Regions from separate parts of the Homo sapiens genome. Here regions 2, 3 and 4 are each linked to region 1. Evidence: promoter capture Hi-C in human tissues and cell types (Jung and others, 2019). All regions are on one chromosome and are shown on one strand. The core of a region is centred on a gene start or on the middle of the fragment in contact, and the rest is flanking DNA. Distances in the headings are between cores, read along the strand shown. Region 1 holds the start of DSCR4 (Down syndrome critical region 4). Region 2 overlaps KCNJ6 (potassium inwardly rectifying channel subfamily J member 6). Region 3 overlaps KCNJ6 (potassium inwardly rectifying channel subfamily J member 6). Region 4 overlaps KCNJ6 (potassium inwardly rectifying channel subfamily J member 6).

What was found. The method cuts DNA at HindIII sites, captures the fragments that hold promoters and counts their contacts. A contact is called where the count stands out against the background at its distance.
Region 2: a fragment that was not itself captured here is called in contact with the fragment with the promoter of DSCR4 in region 1 in 2 of the 25 tissues and cell types used here (dorsolateral prefrontal cortex and mesenchymal stem cells).
Region 3: a fragment that was not itself captured here is called in contact with the fragment with the promoter of DSCR4 in region 1 in 1 of the 25 tissues and cell types used here (lymphoblastoid cells).
Region 4: a fragment that was not itself captured here is called in contact with the fragment with the promoter of DSCR4 in region 1 in 7 of the 25 tissues and cell types used here (IMR-90 fibroblasts, aorta, dorsolateral prefrontal cortex and 4 more).

The regions. Positions count from the first base shown.
Region 1 is chr21:38,118,905-38,123,558 of GRCh38, forward strand. DSCR4 (Down syndrome critical region 4) reads right to left here and starts at 2,456. Exons shown (of 3, transcript NR_147130.1): 1 at 2,224-2,456; 2 at 1,403-1,504. It overlaps DSCR8 (Down syndrome critical region 8), which reads left to right and starts at 2,547. Exons shown (of 3, transcript NR_026842.1): 1 at 2,547-2,697; 2 at 3,408-3,507. The HindIII fragment of the contact is 7,375 bases long and covers 1-4,039 here.
Region 2 is chr21:37,667,303-37,671,606 of GRCh38, forward strand. All of the region lies in intron 3 of KCNJ6 (potassium inwardly rectifying channel subfamily J member 6), which reads right to left. The region is part of intron 1 of KCNJ6-AS1 (KCNJ6 antisense RNA 1); the gene reads left to right. Among named protein-coding and RNA genes, the nearest start is that of KCNJ6-AS1, 150 kb to the left of the region's middle. RefSeq lists enhancers at 117-839, 840-1,563. The HindIII fragment of the contact is 4,201 bases long and covers 280-4,304 here.
Region 3 is chr21:37,736,891-37,741,579 of GRCh38, forward strand. The region is part of intron 2 of KCNJ6 (potassium inwardly rectifying channel subfamily J member 6); the gene reads right to left. KCNJ6-AS1 (KCNJ6 antisense RNA 1) reads left to right here. Exons shown (of 8, transcript NR_183540.1): 8 at 1,614-3,812. Among named protein-coding and RNA genes, the nearest start is that of KCNJ6, 180 kb to the right of the region's middle. The HindIII fragment of the contact is 4,180 bases long and covers 1-3,971 here.
Region 4 is chr21:37,687,446-37,692,002 of GRCh38, forward strand. The region is part of intron 3 of KCNJ6 (potassium inwardly rectifying channel subfamily J member 6); the gene reads right to left. All of the region lies in intron 1 of KCNJ6-AS1 (KCNJ6 antisense RNA 1), which reads left to right. Among named protein-coding and RNA genes, the nearest start is that of KCNJ6-AS1, 170 kb to the left of the region's middle. The HindIII fragment of the contact is 3,712 bases long and covers 847-4,557 here.

The sequences.
Region 1 (4,654 bases), core at 1,206-3,705:
ACCAACATGAACTTGTGGCTTGTTCTTACAATGCGCCAGACGTCTCATGAAACATTCAACGTTTCTTAATTCACCCTCACAACCAGAATGAGGTAAGTGTTGTTCTTATTCTTATTATTTGATATTTTATAGATAAAGAGAAGCTTACAGCATGAAATAACTTTCTCAAAATGATAAGATCAGTAAGCGGAATATTCTTTTTTGTTTTTTTTTTTGAGACGGTGTCTCGCTCTGTTGCCCAGGCTGGGGTGCAGTGGCCCGATCTCGGCTCACTGCAAGATCTGCCTCCCGGGTTCACGCCATTCTCCTGCCTCAGCCTCCCCAGTAGCTGGAACTACAGGCACCTGCCACCACTCCCGGCTAATTTTTTGTATTTTTAGTAGAGATGGGATTTCACCGTGTTAGCCAGGATGATCTGGATTTCCTGACCTCGTGATCCGCCCGCCTCGGCCTCCCAAAGTGCTGAGATTACAGGTGTGAGCCACCCTGCCCGGCCAGTAAGCGGAATATTCAATTGGATTCCAGAGTTTATGCTTTTAGCTATCAAGCTATACTCTTTCTCACTATATTTCCCTGAGCTTTGGTTTCCTTATCTATAAAACTGGAACCGCACTGCCTGTTTGCCTTTAGAGCTATAGGTAATAAATGTTATGCATTTATTATGGTAAATAACATGTAGTAGAGCAAAGCATGGAAATTCAGGAAGTAACAAAGAGCAGTCATAAGAATGTCTATGTGGTAAATCTAGATAAAAATTACTTGTATACACATTTACAGTAGCGCCTTTAAAACACACACCGATAGCACTTTAGTAAGTCAAGAATGCATGTTGCACCAATTAGAGAAAACACCAATTTTTTAAAAAAACATATAAATAACAAGCTAATAGAAGAAGAAATGTAATTAGAAAAATTTAAATAAGCCCAAAAACTTTAAGGAAGGACAAAAAAAATCATAGAACAGAGAAAATAGGAATCAATGGTAAGATGGTAGATTTAACCTTGAATTACAGTAAATATAAACAGACTAAATATTGAAATTGAAATATAAAGCTCATCAGAGAAGGTAATAATATCAAGCAAAGCTAAACAAGCTGCTTACTTTAAATATAAAGATATCGACAGGTTGAAAGTAAGTAAGGGATGGTAAAACTACTATGCAAAGCAAAAGTTACAAAACCAAAGCAAAGACTGGCTCGTTTCAGAATAATCAACGTTTCAGGTTTAATATGAAATAATCGTAAATTTGTTTATACCTAATAACATAGCCATAAAATAAAAATTGACAGATAAACAATCATGTTAAGAGCCTGTATAAGCCAGATTTCTCCAGAAAAACAGAATCAAAAGGATATATACATTAAGAATTATATTAAGAAATTTATTTTAGCATATTGGCTTACATGATTGTGGGGCTGGCAAGTCCAGAATCCGTAGGAGAAGCTGGCAGGCTGAAACTCAGGCAGGAAACGATGTTGCAGACTTTAGGCAGAATTTTTTCTTCTCTAGGAAAATTCAGTTTTTGCTCTTAAGGCTTCTGATTGTATAAGGCCCATTCACAGTATGAAAAGTAAGATTTATGTAAAGCCAACTGATTGTAGATGTTAACTACATCTACAAAATACCTTTGCAGCACTACCTAGATTAGTGTTTGATTAAATAAATGGGCAGTAAAGGCCGGGTGCAGTGGCTCACGCCTGTAATCCCAGCACTTTGGGAGGCCGAGGCAGGAAGATCACTTGAGGTCAGGAGTTCAAGACCAGCCTGGCCAACATGGTGAAACCCCATCCGTACTAAAAATACAAAAATTAGCCTGGCTTGGTGGCGGGCACCTGTAATCCCAGCTACTTGGGAGGCTGAAGCAGGAGAATCACTTGAACCCAGGAGGTTGTAGTGAACCGAGATCGCGCCACTGCATTCCAGTCTGGGTGACAAGAGCAAAACTCTGTCTCACCACAAAAAAAAAAAAAAAAAAAAAAAAAAAAAGGCACTAAAGCCTGGCCCCCATGATGACACAGGAAACTAATCGTCATGGAGACTTTATCCACACTTTTGAATATATGTTACATTTCAACATTAAAACACACACACACACACAAAATCATAAAGCAATCAACAAAATTAAGCTGAATGCTTCGTAATTGCTGGATTCCCTGGGAAGCTGACTCTGAGATGGAGATTAGCGTGCAGGACATTTCTTACGGGTTGTTCTTGGGATCAATACCTGTGGAGAGGAGAAGCTGAGGCAGGATCAGGAAGCGGGGAAGTAGAGTGCAATGCTGGTGAAGCGGCATCACTGTCTGGGGTAAATATCCGGGGTTCATCATCTCTCGTCAAGATGATTAACGACATGGACACACATGGGTGAGTTAAGAAGCGGAAAGTTTAATAGGCGGAAGAAAAGAGTGAGGAGACCAGCTCTCAGACATCCTTAAGGGAAAGGCTGGCCCGTGACTGACGGCAGCAGGTTTTACGGGCAGGCTTGAGGAGGCGGTGTCTGATTTACGTGGAGCCCAGAGATTGGTTCGACCAGGGGTGACGTTTACGTAGCGCGCAGGGAAGGCTGGTCACCCCACCCTAATCTTGTTATGCAAATAGGCTTCCCACTTGGCAGGGGCCGTCTTGTCCACTCGTTTCTGTAAACATGGGTGGCAAAAAGAGAAGATGGAGCTGCCATTTAGAACATGCCTAATCCCAGGTAGTGTTTTTTGTTGTTGTTGTTGCTGCTGTTGTCGCTTTTTGAGTCGGAGTTTCGCTCTTGTTGCCCAGGCTGGAGTGCAATGGCGCCATCTTGGCTCACCACAGCCTCCGCCTCCTAAGTTCAGGCGATTCTCCTGCCTCAGCCTCCTGAGTAGCTGGGATTACAGGCGTGAGCCACAGCGCCGGCCCCAGGTAGTATATTTTTATTGGCACAACTGCCGGTATTTGCCTGTGCAAGCTTTCAGCTTGCTTGTCTGTGTCTGCAGCTCGATTTTCCAGGTTGCTTTTTGTTAGAAAAGAAAATGATTTGGGGGCTGCTTTTCATTAAAAGGAAGACCTTACTGAGGACTCCCATACCTTCACTATCTGCCTAAGTACTTTCTTCTTAACTCCTATATCACTGGGTCAGCAGCAACCCCAGTCAAACCTCAAGGGAGACGGGAAGATGGGACGATCTGTCAGAGGTATGCTGAGTTGAGGCAAGAGAGCTGACCTTTATGGATTGCCAATCAGTGACTCATTGGAAGTGGGGCAACCTGGAAGGAAATGTGGCCTTAGGTGAGGCAGCTGTCTTCAGAGGAGGCAATTTCTTTGTATCTGGAGGGGCAATTGTTAGTGTTCCCCTGGACTGAAGGGTGAATTATGGAGAATGGAATAGAACGATTTGTTACTATGATTTGGTTGATGACTTATTTCCTGTTTCCTTAGCTTCATCTTGCTGAGCAAAAATGAAGGAGCCTGGACCCAACTTTGTTACTGTGAGAAAGGGTCTTCATTCATTCAAGATGGCATTTGTTAAGCACCTACTGTGAGTAGATGATCTCCTGTCAAAGACAGTTAACAAATCCTCGGAATATTGCTTCATGTACAGTTATTGGAGATGAGTAACTTACATTCTCTTAATTGTAATGGTTCCTTGGAAAGTCATCGTGGAAAATGAAGGCTGGCTCATACATTTTCCCAGACAGGAATTTGGCTGCCAACAGGGAATTCTAAACAACTAAAAACTCCAGATGATGAATGCACAACATAATGATGGTTAAATTAAAAAAAAAAAAGAGCACGGTAATAAAATTTCCATGAAATATTTTGTGTAAGCGCAGATAATCAGTCATTTTCTTTATAGAATTCTTATTCGTAAATAATTTAGAATACTTTGTTCTTTATAATATATGATGGGCAACTATAGTATGATTCTTCTGAGTGACTCAGTTCTTTTTTTTTTTTCACATTTAATGACTTTGTTTCTCCTAAGTGAATGCACAGATAGTATATTAATCAGGGTTCTCTGGAAAAACCAGAACCAATTTATTATCAGGTACTGGTTCATGTGATTGTGGAGGCTGAGAAGCCCCATGATCTGCTCTCTGCAAGCTGGAGACCCAGGAAAGCTGATGAAAGTCAAAGGCCTAAGAGCTGGAGGGCCGATGGTATAGATTGCAGCCCAGGTCTAAAGGCCTGAGAACCAGAAGCACAGAGGGCAGAAGATCAATATTCCAGCTCAATCAGGCAAAGAGAAAAAGTCCTCCCTTCCTCTCCGTTTTTCTTCTATTCTGACCCTGGATGGACTGGATGAGGCCCAGCCACATTGAGGAGAGCCATCTGCTTTAATCAGTCCACCAACTCAGATCCTGATCTCTTCCAGAAACACCTTCACAGATACACCCAGAAATAACATTCAACCTGTTAGGAGTATCCCATGGCTCAGTCAAGTTGACACACAAAACTAACCATCACAGATACACATCAAAGTTAAATAATATTAACACAGACTTTGGCAAGCTGTATTTTAAAACACAGTAGGTTAGTGAGTCTGGTTTAAGAGCACTAGATGAAACCACATATAAGGATGTTTTTGACATTCTGTGTCTGACCCTTCAGACTCCCTGCCCTCCTCCCCACCATGTTCTGAACCCCAGAACACTGACCTCTACGAACAGCCCCACATGGGCTCT
Region 2 (4,304 bases), core at 1,130-3,629, 450 kb before region 1:
AATTGGAGAATTCTCTACTGTGGGGGGCGTTTAGCAACACCTTTCCCTCATCACATAGGACCTCTTGTAACAAGCCCATCCTGTCTGGACCAGGGGGATTCAGCTAAGCCTAGGGTCAGTCCAAATAATTCCAGGACTTGGAATGACTCAATAGGACATCAGGGGTAGTAGGCGCCGGGGTAGCGGGAGCTGGGGTAGAGGACGCTGGGGTAGTGGGCGCCGGGGTAGCGGGGTCCGGGGTAGCGGGCGCCGGGGTAGCAGGCTCCAGGGTAGTGGGTGCTGGGGTAGCAGGAGCCAGGGTAGCGGGGTCTGGGGTAGCAGGCACCGGGGTAGCAGGTCCAGGGTAGCAGGCGCCGGGTAGCAGGTCCGGGGTAGCGGGCTCCGGGGTCGGCACTGCAGGGTGTTTAGCAGCATTCTCTGCCTCTGATCACAGGGTGCCAGTAGCAGAGTCCTCTCACCCCATTGTGACATCCAAAATGCCTCCATATATTGCCCTCTGTCTCCCGGGGGACAAAACTTGCCCTTGACTGAGAACCACTGTCCTAGGTCCATCTCGTGCAGTTGGGCCAGAGCCTACCTCGACTCTGGGCACAGAGAAGCAAGTGCCACTCCTGGAGTGGTGTCCTCCTCCAGGAGGCATGCCAGAGCTCCTTGGAGCTTCTTAAAAGCGCAGGGGCCTGGGCTTTACTCCACAATTCTGATGTCATTGGATGCAGTGGACATTTGCTGAAAGCTCACGCCATGGTCTGATCAGTGGGCGCAGCTGAGAACCACTGGTGCCTGGCTCCCTTGGGGACGGAGCCCACAGCCCCAGGGCCTCAGCTCGGGTGTGTGGGGCAGTTCTGTGCATGCTGAAAGCATACCCCCTCCAGTGCTTGATGGGGGCTTCTCTGGTCTTCTGCCTCAGAGCCCTCTCCAAAACCCATAGAGGCCTTCAGACCCATGTTCAGCCCCACGTGAGGAGTTGGAGGAGTGCTAGTGCCCCAGGGGTAATGGGAGCCTGTAGGAGCTCCCCAGAACTGCCTCAAGGGAAACCACAGATGGCGCCTTAAATAACACAGTTCTCTCTCCTTGGCTTACAGATGCCCTCTCCTCCCTGGGTCCTCACAGGGTCACCCCTCTGTGTGTGTCTGTGTCTGTGTCCTAATCTCCTATTCTTATAAGGACACCAGTTAGGTTGGATGAGGGCCCACCCTAATGGCCTCGTTTACCTTAATCACTTCTTTAAAGGCCCTACCTCCAAATACAGCCACATGCTGAGGTATGGGGGGTTAGGACTTCAACATAGGCAGATTGGGAGATACACCTCGGCCCACAGCAGCATCCGGAGGCCTGTGTCTTCCTGTCTGAGCCTGGGTGTGGATGCCGCACCCGTGCTGGTTGGAGGAAGCTGGCCTGCACGGCCTCTGAGCTTCTCCACTTTCTTACTCATCTGAACTTTGGGGCACTCCAATTCTGCTGAGGAAGGAGAAGGATCCTTTTTGCAAATTATATACTGACTCTAGTATAACATCACATGACAGGTAAAGGAGGATATCAAAATATTTTATCCCAAAATAGGTTTCTTTGCTATACTTTGAAATGGTGCTGCAAAGCTGGCTTTCGTGATGCAAAATTTGCATCTGTAAGGAATCTCTAATAATATAACTAGGTATTTCCCCTTCCAGGCCCTCCCAATCCAGAAGAGATTAGCACCTTTAAAAGATCTAAATAGGAAACATTGCCATCTATTGTCTCAAAGGGCAGCTACCTATGAGACTTCATCTACATAACAAGAACCCTGGTCTCCACAACCCCTTATCTTAACCCAAACACTCCTTTCTATTGATTCTAGGTCTTTAGATAATAACTTAACTCTTCAACCAATTGCCAATCAGAAAATCTTTGAATCCACCTATGACCTGTAAGGCACCCCCCCACCTTCCAGTTGTCCTGCCTTTCCAGAACTAAACAATTTATACCTCACATGTATTGATTGAGGTCTTATGTCTCCCTAAAACGTATATGACCAAGCCGTAACCCAGTCACCTTGGGCACATGTTCTCCGGACTTCTTGAGACTGTGCTTTGGGCCCTGGTCATTCATATTTGGCTCAGAATAAACCTCTTTAAGTAGTTTACAGAGTTTGCCTTTTTTTGCTGACATACTACAAATTCAAAGCTCAATGAAAACAAAACAGGGAAGCCTCAAAGAAATCTCTGCTTGATGCCAATCAGTTCTTTGTATCTTTAGGGAGATGGTAGGTGGTGTTGGGGAGCATGAAGTCTGTGTGTGTTGTGTGTGTGTGTGTGTGTGTGTGTGAATGTGCATATGCATCTCTGCTATAATGCAGGGATAAAAACAACAATGCTTTGGACATTTTCATGATGCTGAATCTACTGTTTGGAGCTTACAATAAGGAAATATGCAGAGACTCTGAAATGTCTTCACAGAATTGTAGCTGGAATAACATGGTTAAGATGGATATTCAAAATATTTGAAAATAATTTGAAAATATTTTCTCCCATTCTGTATGTTGTCTTTCACTTTCATGATAATGTATTTCAATGCATACAAGTTTTTTATTTTGATGAAGTTATATTTATATTTTTCTTTTGTTGCCTGTACTTGTGGTGTCACAGCTAAGAATCCATTGATGAATCCGAAGTCATGAAGATTTACCCCTGTGTTTTCTTCTAAAGAGTCTTACAGCTTTTGCTCCTCTATTTAGGTCTTGATGCATTTTGAGTTTATTTTTGCAAATGTATGAGGTAGAGTTTCAACTAATTCTTTTGCATGTATATATCTAGTTGTCCCAGCACCATTTGTTGAAAAGAGGATTCTTTCCCATTAAATGATCTTAGTGTCCTCATGAAAGTCAATTATTCTAAGGTGTGCAGGTTTATTTCTGGACTCTAAATTCTATTCCACTGGTTTAGATGTCCATCCTTATGCCTTATATTCAGTCACTGCTTTAATTACTATAGTTTTATAGTAAGTTTTGAAATGAGGAAGTGTGAATCTTCTAATTTTGTTCTTTTTCAGCATTGTTTTGGCCATTTGGGGACCCTTGCATTTCCATATGAACTTGAGGATTGGGCTTTTTAGTTCTGCAAAATGGCCATTGGAATTTTGGCAGGGATAACATTAAATCTGCAGATCACTTTGGGTAGTACTGCCATCTTAATAATATTAAGCCTGGGCTGAGTGCAGTGGCTCACACCTGTAATCTCAGCACTTTGGGAGGCTGAGGTGTGCAGATAACTTGAGCTCAGGAGTTTGAAACCAGCCGGGGCAACGTGGTGAAACCATGTCTCTCCTAAAAATACAAAAGTTAGCTGGGCATGGTGGTGCATGCTTGTAGTCCCAGCTACTTGGAGGGCTGAGGTGGGAGAATTACTTGAGCCTGGGAGGCAGAGGCTGCAGTCACCCAAGATCGTGCCACTGCACTCCAGCCTGGGTGACAGAATAAGACCCTGTCTCAAAAAGACAAAACAAAACAAAGCAAAAATAATATTAAGCCCTCCAACCTATAAGCACAGGATGTTATTCCATTTATTTAGATATTCTTTCATTTCTTTCAGCAGGACCTTATGATTTTCAGTATATGAGTTTTCACTTCCTTGGTTTGAACTTAGGTATTTTATTTCATTTTTTGGATGCTATTGTCAATGGGCCTGTTTTCTTAATTTCCTTTTTGAATTGTCCATTGCTAGTGTATTGTGATATTGTGAAATATATATTTGGCCTTTATCCCATTTCCTGATACATAGCTCCTAAAACCACTAGAATCTCTGGAGTGTTAAGAATGTCTTTTGTTTGCTACTGAGATGACTGGCAGCTGCAGACCTCTAGATAGCTTCCGGGTGGGGGCTGGCCACCTGAAAGACCATGGCATGATTAGAAGGTTGAGACTTTCGGTCCCACCCCCAACCTCCAGGGAAGGGAAGGGGGTTGAAGGTTCAGTTGATCACCAATGGCCAATGATATCATTACTCATGCCTACATAATGAAGCTTCCATAGAAAAGCAAAAGGACTGAGTTCTGGGGGCTTCTGGAAAGCTGAACACATGGATGTTCCTGGAAGGGGTTAACCCAGGGAGGGCGTGCCCCTCTTCTTGCCTCTTCTCCCACACTTTGCCCTGTACCCTTCTTCCTTCTGGCTGCTCATCTGTACCCTTAATTATATCCTTTATAATAAATGGGTAGGTGTAAGTAGAGTGGTTCCCTGAGTTCTGTGAACTGCTTTCGCAAATTAATTGAATCCCAGGATGGGGTTGCGGGAACTCCCAATTTACAGCCAGTTGGTCAGAAGCACAGGCCAC
Region 3 (4,689 bases), core at 632-3,131, 380 kb before region 1:
CGTCCTTAATAATACTTTTATGCAACTTAGACACGAGTTGCTGCGCTGGGCTGTTGCAGTTGACTGGGGGACAATGTGATTTTTCTCCTGACATGAGTTTCCTAACAAATTACGTTGGGGGCACGATGCTTTTCCTTTTGTGAGATTGGACTTTCTCTTTTATTGTGTGATGTTCTTTTCCTGTGTTGTACTGATATGTTACGGGGGGATCTGCAGAGCTTCTTTACACAGCACAGCTTGTTTTTTCTCTGAGGTCCTCACTGTGCATCAGTGCCCGATGGCAAGAGAAGACCTGTTTCATATTGCCTCTCTCTGGGTATATGTGCTACAGGAGTACGTCTCATTAGGGGTCAGAGTGGCCAGAAGTAAACTGGATTTGTGCTTATCAGTCATTTATTCCTTGAGGTGATTCCTACTTTAACCTGAACTACTTGGTGGATTTTCATCAGACAGTGGAAATATTTGCATTTTCCTTTTTCTCTCAGCTTGGGTGGCAGTGTTTCTCTTGCAAAATTAGCTGCATTTGTAAAGTGAAGCAGAACGAAAGTCAAGAGGGCGATTTCTCTGTTGGCGTTTGTTTGTTTATTTTTCCAGGATCATCTTGCTAAAAGGAAAAGTTTTCCTAGCAATAACCTTGCGATATCTTTAGGCAGCTCTGATCATAATTGATCTGCAGTCAAGTCTTCCATCCTGGAAGGAAAATATCCGGAAAGAGGACTTGATTCCCTTCTGCCCAGTCATAGTCTATTTAGGGTGAGGCCTGAGTGGTGTCTGGGGACAGGGTTTCTGGGGACAGAGTCTGAGTCACAAAGTCTCCCTGCTGATTCTCTGCTCACCAAGCCATGTACTCTGGTTTGGGACAGTTGCTGCACAGAAGGGGGCAGATTCCTGCCCGATGATCTTGTATAACCCTGCAGTGGCCCCGTCTAGGAACCCAAAGACATTCTGGTTCTATGTTTGTAGAGTATATTTTAAGGCCACAGTGAATGAACTTGGAAGGAGATAGAAGGATTTGCCATTGAGATGCCTTTTTGGTAGACAGCATGAAAACTCTGGGCTTCTCCCTGGGGTCAAACCATGCTCTGCACCTGGCCAGCTCTCCAGGAAGCCAAGGTGGAATGATGGGTTTCAGGACAGTGGTTTCTCATACTTTCCAGGGCTGTATTTGTTTAATGCTCACACTCTTTTTTAACAGTGAGATTTTGAGCACTTTTGAGTCTCGGCTCACACAGACAGCCAGCATGGGCCATGGAGACAGGCAGCCCTGGGGGCCAACTATGGTTCCCCATTTGGTGTTCTGTGTCTCCTGGGGATGACTTATTAATAGCTCATAGATTACAAACGGCCTGTACTTCCCTGCCCTGTGGCTTGTCTACTGCAATGCTGTTTGGGTTTCATGCACTTGGGATATAGTCCTTTTAAAATTACATTTTCTCCTGCTTCCATGCTTCTCCCCCCTGGGGCCCATTGGCAAAGCCTGTGTGCTTTGCTGTGCCTCCCCTGAATTATTCTTGCCTTCTCCAGCAAAGGTTTATTTGATTTCTTTAAAGTTACTTGACTGAATTCTCAACGCAAGTACATACACTAAAGTAATCACATCTGCTCTTTTTTAGGGAAAAGTAGAAATCTGCACTCTTGTCTCGACTTTGCCTTGCCTGCAGAACTCAACATTTGCGAATGATGTGTCCTTGAGAAGTCATGTTTTACCCAGTTTTGCAAACTTTTGGCTCATATCATAAATTCAAAGATGCTGGTGCTCCCAGTCTTAGTGCTAACATTTCTATTTATACCCCTTTCCCTGAGCCCCAAGAAATGTTCTTTAAACATATTCTCAGCTGGACCAGAAGAGATTTGGTTTGTGTGTTTGTTTTTAATGGGCCCTGCATTGACTTGGATAATGCTGTTGAAAACACAGTAAGATGGATTAAGTGCTGGATAATTCTCCTTCTAGCACCAATACTCCCTAATAACTTTTTGATACATACAAACAAAAACATCCTCTTTAATCTGCAAATTCCTCTTTGGATGGGCTGAAGGGTAAGGTTATCTGGAAAAAATGAGTAACTTCGGCAGAGAGAATCCTGTGTCAGTCACCAGAGGAGAAGAGAGAAAGCTGCTTGTCTCTTGCAGACCTGTGCTGGCCAATACAGCAGCTACCAGCCTGAAATTTGCCTGGTCTGAATAGAGATGTGCAGTAAGTGTTAAACACACAGGGGATTTTTGAAGAGTAATAATGTAAAAGTAAACTATCCCATTAATAATTGTCATACCAATTACATGTTGAGCTTTTAATATCTGGATATAGTGGGTGAAATAAAATATATCATTATTTTAATTTCACCTATTTCTTTTTTCCTTTCAAAGGTTCATATTATAGAATTTAAGATTATGCAGGTGGCTGGCATTATATTTCCACTGGGCAGGGCTGTTACAGAACATCCAGTACTGAGGAACGCCAGCTCTTAGCATGTTGGGAATAAAATTGATGCAAAAGGCAGTCCCTTGGTTGGCTTAAGTCAGAAGAAAAGGGCTGCTTATTAGGGGGGTTTAACCTTTTGATGTGGAAGGAGCTGAGGGCTCTGTAATTGGGAAAAAATTAATAAGAGTTCATAATGTGATATAATAAGGGGTATTGAACACAACTAATCAAAAAATGGTTGGGGAATTGCTGATAAACGTGTGTAAATATGTTCCCTCCTAGTTTGGGAGCTGTGGCTACTTTAGCCCGCTGGTTCAATTGTTTTTCATTTTTTTGAGTGCTATGCAAGCTCGTGTCAGCTTTCTGCACACCACTAATAACCCAATTTGTGCCTGATTGGAGAAGCTTGACATTGACAGTATCTTATGTTGATGCCATGCATGATGGGGTGAGGAGGGAGAGAGGGAGAAAAGCTCCTGGAAAAACGGGCATTTACAAATGGGAAAAGTGAACTGGGAGAGGGCAGTGTACCATTGGCTTGGGTAAATATTCATTTTATTTATTTATTTAAAAATTTTGGTTCATGAACAATTCTTTAGGTTTGAAAAAAAAAAAGATCAGGTGTTGTTATCCAGGGCTGAAGAAATGAATCATGGTCCCAGCTTTGAAGCACCTGTGGCAACATTGCCAGTCTCCCTGTTCTTTCCTGCTAAGCCCATGACTCCAGTGTGGCTTGTGGAGGAAGCTCACTGGGACTATTTTAAAACGTGTGCCCAAGGAAGTGCAAATGCTGTGCCCAGCACTACTACAAACCAGTAGCTCTTGTAAACCAAAAACAAAATTTGAACGCCCCCCAACCATCTGAGTGGACTTCTTCCTTGGCCAGGGCTCTCCTAAAATTTAACCTGAGAGACTGGTTCAGGCCATTATGGTAAGTGGGGATTGGACACGCCTTATTATACCTCTCTGGCATTAACATCAACACAGACCCGAAGTCTGATAAGAATCGGTTACAATCTACTCTCTCTGAAGCCTGCAACCTGGAGGCTTCAGCTGCATGATAAAACTTTGGTCTCCACATCTCTTATCGCAACCTAGACATTACCTTTCTATTGATCCCAGGTCTTTAGATAAACTCAACCCATTGTCGACTAGAAAACATTCTAAATCTACCTATAAACTGGAACTAACAACCCCCCTCCTTTGAGTTGTCCCGCCTTTCTGGACTGAACCAATGTATTTCTGAAATGTATTTGATTGAAGTCTCATGTCTCCCTAAAATGTATCAAACCAAGCTGCACCCTGACCACCTTGGGCACATACATGTTCTCAGGACCTCCTGAGGGCTGTGTCACTCATATTTGGCTCAGAATAAATCTCTTCAAATATTTTACAGAGTTTGACTCTTTTCATTGACATTCTTCTGCCATTCCCCTGTTCCTGGAGGCTCAAGGACCATAAACTTGAATAGCATGATTTGGCTTTGGTTTGAGCCTATGCCTTTAGGTTTAGATCTTTGCCTAATTGACTAGTAGACTTTGCTGCTAAAAAGCATGACTGCAAATCTGATAAACACTCCAGCTTTTGCCTTTAGATCTCTGACCAATTCTCCTTCTCAGTGACTTTTCCTGACTTCCTCTTCTGTCTGTCCCCTTGAATGTTGGGGGTACCCCATGGTTTGTCTTCAGCCTCTTTTTCTTCTCATCCCTCACTGTTTCTTGGGGAAAGGTCTCCTGTGGATGAAGCGCTCCCTATATGTAGATGACTTCCTCATCTAGCTCTCCAGGTCAGATCTTTCTTTCCCTCAATTTCTTTGCTGTCATATTGACTTGCTTGCAAGATATTTCCACATGGATTTCCTGTAAGAACCTCAAAATAAACATTTTTTCAAGACAGAGATTGTTATCCCCATGCTGTCTGGACTAGATATTCTCCATCTGTCCCTGAAGAGTCCCCCCACACCCTCTGGACTCTCTCTGCAGCCCAGGAGAATGACCTTTCTGGATGTACCTGGTCTCTCATGTCCTCTGGCTTCCTGTTGGGCTTGGCTCATGAGAGGTTCTGGTGGGAGATCAAAGAGTAGGAGGAGAATGGAACCTTTCTATTAAGATGGGTTGAGTTGAAATGGGCTGTGTTCCTCTTCCTACAACCATAGTCCCACTCAGTGGTCCTCTCTCCTGCAGCTCTGTCTGGTTTCCTCCCTTGGCCCCTTTAGACTCAGGGTTGTGATGGCTCTAGATGTTGCCAGCCCTGGGTTCCTCTCCTTTCCT
Region 4 (4,557 bases), core at 1,453-3,952, 430 kb before region 1:
GCTGAAACATCAGCTACTGTTCTGTCCTTCAATGCAGACCTGGCCTCAGGAGATTGTAAGGTGGGTAGAAACATTGGCTTTTCTCATAAAGGATTCCAGACAGTGACGTGTTTGGGCTTTTTTTCTTTGATTTATAGCTCTGGGCTTTTTTTCCATTCACTGTCAGACTTGCCTCTTGTTGCTCTCAATGTGCCTGTTTTATAGCAAATCCATCTCCTCCCTTTATTTGCTGCTTTGGTCTCCTCTGGTCTGGGAGACCAGTCAGCTCTGAGCTTGTTAGGATTTCTTATTAGAAAAACAATAAATAAAAAGGACACACCTCTGCTTAGCTTCCAGCATCGGTCTTAGATGCTGGGATGGACTGCACGGGCATTGTGGCATCTTCTGTGATTGCATTTCTCCCCTCAGTTTGGAGTTCTTAGTTGTATTCTAGAGTCTAGATGGATAAAGTTGCTAGATAAACAAGTGCCAGATGATGGAATGGTTTCTTTGTTCTACCAATAGCATATTCAATAACTGTGGATGATTTAAAGTGTTTTTGTTCACTGAGTCCTACCATCTGAGATGGAAGGTGTCCTTCTTATCTGACCTGTTTTAGGCATAAAACACATGAATGAGAAATAGAGAACTCTCTATTTCTATAGCTGATTTTTAAAGAGCTTGGCAGACAGGTGTTTCTTCTTCTTTATTTTTCTCTTATAAGGATAATTTTAGAGCAAAACTGTTCTAACATATTTGAATTATATGTGATGGGATTCCCAGCTCATCTCATTCAAATTCAACCTAAAAAAGAAGCATTACCTGCTAATTCCTTATTAGTAAGCACTTTTTCTAACTTGACATTTTTAGATGTTTGAACCATCTGTCATTTTACAGGCAAATGGAACCTCTTGAGTACTAGAGATACACCCGTATTTTAAAAGCATTTTTTTTTTAAAAAATCTACTACATTCTAGATTCTATGCTATGTTTTTTTTTATCATCTAATTTAATAATCATTGAAACCTAGCCAGGCAGGAATCTCATCAGATAAAGAATATGAGGTCCAGGGAAATCAGATCAGTCAGTCAAGGACACAGCTAATGAGCAGGAGGGACAGGGCATGAGTGAAAGGGCTCTGGACACAAGTCCAGGGCTTTTCCTAGTGAGCCTAACCTTCGTTTTTCAGCTTAATGGGATGTGTGACACAACCCACTGTTGGCCAGGCTTATTCTGTGATATCGGACTCAATGACCCAAGGGGTGGGGGAGAGGGGTGCAGATGCCAGATAAGGCACCAGAGATTATTCACTTATGAGACATGTCTTCCATGATGGTTGGTTGGAACCCAGACTTAGGTGCCTAGTAAGTATTAATATTTTTCTCTTAGTTGTACTATTTTGAAAAACTTACTAGACACAAGGACATGATGAAAGTGTTGGCTGAAGTATCACATCCAAAGAGGGGATGATGGCAGTCAAATGGAACAGGTTTGAATATGTTTCATGAATATAATTCTATTGTAGTAGAGATACATTTAGATATATGTATTGTAGATATACACCAAAGGTGCATATATCATTGGTGATATAAATCACCATATATCGTTGGTGATAAATCAAAGGTGATATAAATCAATGGATATCTGAATGATGTATGTATATGTATAATATATCTCTATTCTCTCTGTTCCTCTATCTATTGAAGTGCAGGAGGAAATGAGAAGTCCCATTACAGGAAAGCTTGCAGAGTCTACAGCTTTTCAAAAGCAGTCACTTTCTGGTGGACAGAGCCCTAGTAATGAAGAAAATGGTGCTCTCCACCCTCCACCATACTTAGTGAGATGAAATTTTGACTAATTGCTCTGCAATCACTTCAAAATCCATACATACTAAAAAGTCTGATGGAATGGATAAAGAAGTGTCACTTGGAAGCAAATTCATAAGCAAAGTATATTTTCTTTTTCTTCTTACTTCCCCCTTTCAGTGGTTTCCATCTTGTTTTCCTCTGACCTTTTAAGGGGCTCACTGTTCTCATCCTGTCTCTTTGTTATCAGAGCCTCCCAATAGAGGAGAGTTACAGTTCAGGTCGAACATTCACGGCATGACTTATCTGTCCATCTATCTAACCACAGTCCTCATTCTTAATACATACTAGGCACTCAGTAAATTTCTATCTTCTCTCTCTTCCTTCCTCTCTCCATTCATTCCTGCCAAGAATTAACAATCTATTGGTGAGAAGAAACCAATTACCACTGAGTATCAGACAAATGACATGTCATGCCGGGCTATGTTTATGTTGAAACTCATGGCCCACCGTGAAAGAAAAGGGTTAGTCTCTTAACACATGAAGTATTGGGAGATGAGTGCAAGGGACGTGGTGGGCTGGGACTTTCACCCACACCATTGCTTCCTATCAGGGAAGCAGTAGTGTCTCCCTGTCAACTAGATGGCTTGGGTCTCAGGCAGAGTCAAAAGTTGGGTCTCACATGGCCAAGACACCAACTCACAGATTCTCCATTAATGACCCCCACTCCTGCATTCGTAGGGAATTTAATTTTAGATAAATTATTTCAAAAAATAGAAATACTCTTATCCCTCTGCAATAAACTACAGATTATCCTTATAAAAATCCTTTCTTTCTCAGTATAAGATTATGCAATTAAAATTGTTTGATTGAAATTGTTTGATTGACATATGATATAATTATTTCAAAATATCTATATATTTGATAAATTACCAGTGACTATGCTTCTTCATGTCATCATTATGAACTACTCAATGTTCAAAGGTTTATCATTTTCCATGTAATTATTTTTACATTCAAGGCTTTCTACTCTATAGCATGAACCTGACAATAACGATTCCTCCTTGAATCTGTATTGAAGTTTATAAAGCTTCAAGGACTTGTCAATGATACATAAAAAGTTAATTAAAATCATTCAAGGACTGCCTACCATAAGACTTGCAATAAACTGTCTGTTTGCATTGAAATGATGGGGTGCTCTGTGGGGTAGATTTTCACCTCCAGCCAATGTCTACTGTGGAGCTGCATGCTTGCATTTGTAATGGGCATTGCTGGGATAAAAGGTCTCAGCTGTGACAGTCTTAGGAAACCTCAGGATTTTTCAATTTTCCAAAGGCCTAAGAGTATTTTCTTGAAATTTCGGCATGGTGCCACAGCTACCAACCATGACACCTGGCTCAGTGAATATCTATGGCCACAGCCAGGGCACAAATGTGAATTTTAAAAATTCCACAAAGCCCCTCCTTTTCCAAACAGAAATTGGACATAAATATTCGTACATCAAAGTAACATATTAATGGGTGATACTTCAGGTTACTTCTTTTTTCTTTTCTTTTTTTTTTTTTTTTGAGATAGAGTCTTGCTCTGTTGCCCAGGCTGGAGTGCAGTGGCGTGATCTTGGCTCACTGCAACCTCTGCTTCCTACCGGGATCAAGCAATTCTCTTCCTCAGTCTCCTGAGTAGCTGGGATTGCAGGCATCTGCCACCATACCCGGCTAAGTTTGGTATTTTTAGAAGAGACCAAGGTTTCACCATCTTGGCCAGGCTGGTCTTGAACTCCCAACCTCGTGATCCACCTGCCTCAGCCTCCTAAAGTGCTGGGATTACAGGCATGAGCCACCGTACCTGGCCCAGGTTACTTTTTCAATTCCAAGCTAAGCAAGCTTAGGTCACACCTTTGAGGAATAAGGACAGAGACAGATAATTGAATTGTGTGGGGCTGAGAGTGCAGGGTTTCCAACCCCTGAAGCCACTGCAAGGGCAGATGGCCAGGTATGGCTAGGACAACAATTTCCTGGCACCCCTAGGCTCAGGTGTAGGGGGGCCTCTGTCAGGACCTCTAAGGATTCCCACAGGGTCTTCATTTACTAGACTGGAAGTGAGAGACATCTCCCTCCCCTCCCTTATTGGGGGCTGTGATGCTCCCAAATCTTAACTTTCTGATGATTTATCTTCAATGAGGGTGAAGTGCTGGGCATTTTGACACCCTCCCAGCCTGCTTGGCACAGCCTGCTCAGAGCTCTGGCAGCTCTTGTTGGAAGGTGGGAACTATTGACACCTATTGAATGGGAGCATCAGCTGAGACCGACTTCTAAGGAGTTCCTCTGAGGTGTCCCGTATCTTCCTGATTCACAGTTTGGCTTCTGGCTAGAATGGTTTCCAGGAACATCTTCAGCCACTGCTCAGTGATTACGGTCTCTGTTCTAGCTTTGCTCAGTTTTTGGCAAATCCAAAATCTGATTTTGGATATGACAGTGGGATATAGTGAGACATGGTTGGAGGCCACTCGGCAGGGGTGGAATCTGTGTGAGTAACCGCGCACCTGTGCTCACAGGAAAGCACAGCCGTTAGAACTCCTTAGACCCTGCAGGCAGGCCCCGCTAAGTTAAATAGTGACAGGGACATGAACATATTCATTCAATGTGCTTTTGCTATGATCCACCACTCTGGATCAAACATATTTTTTGAGACGTTTTGCTGTATAATTAAAAAAAAGGTTTCTCTAACCTCAGCTGATGGCCCATTTATTTCAAGCAGTTTGGGATGTCGTGGC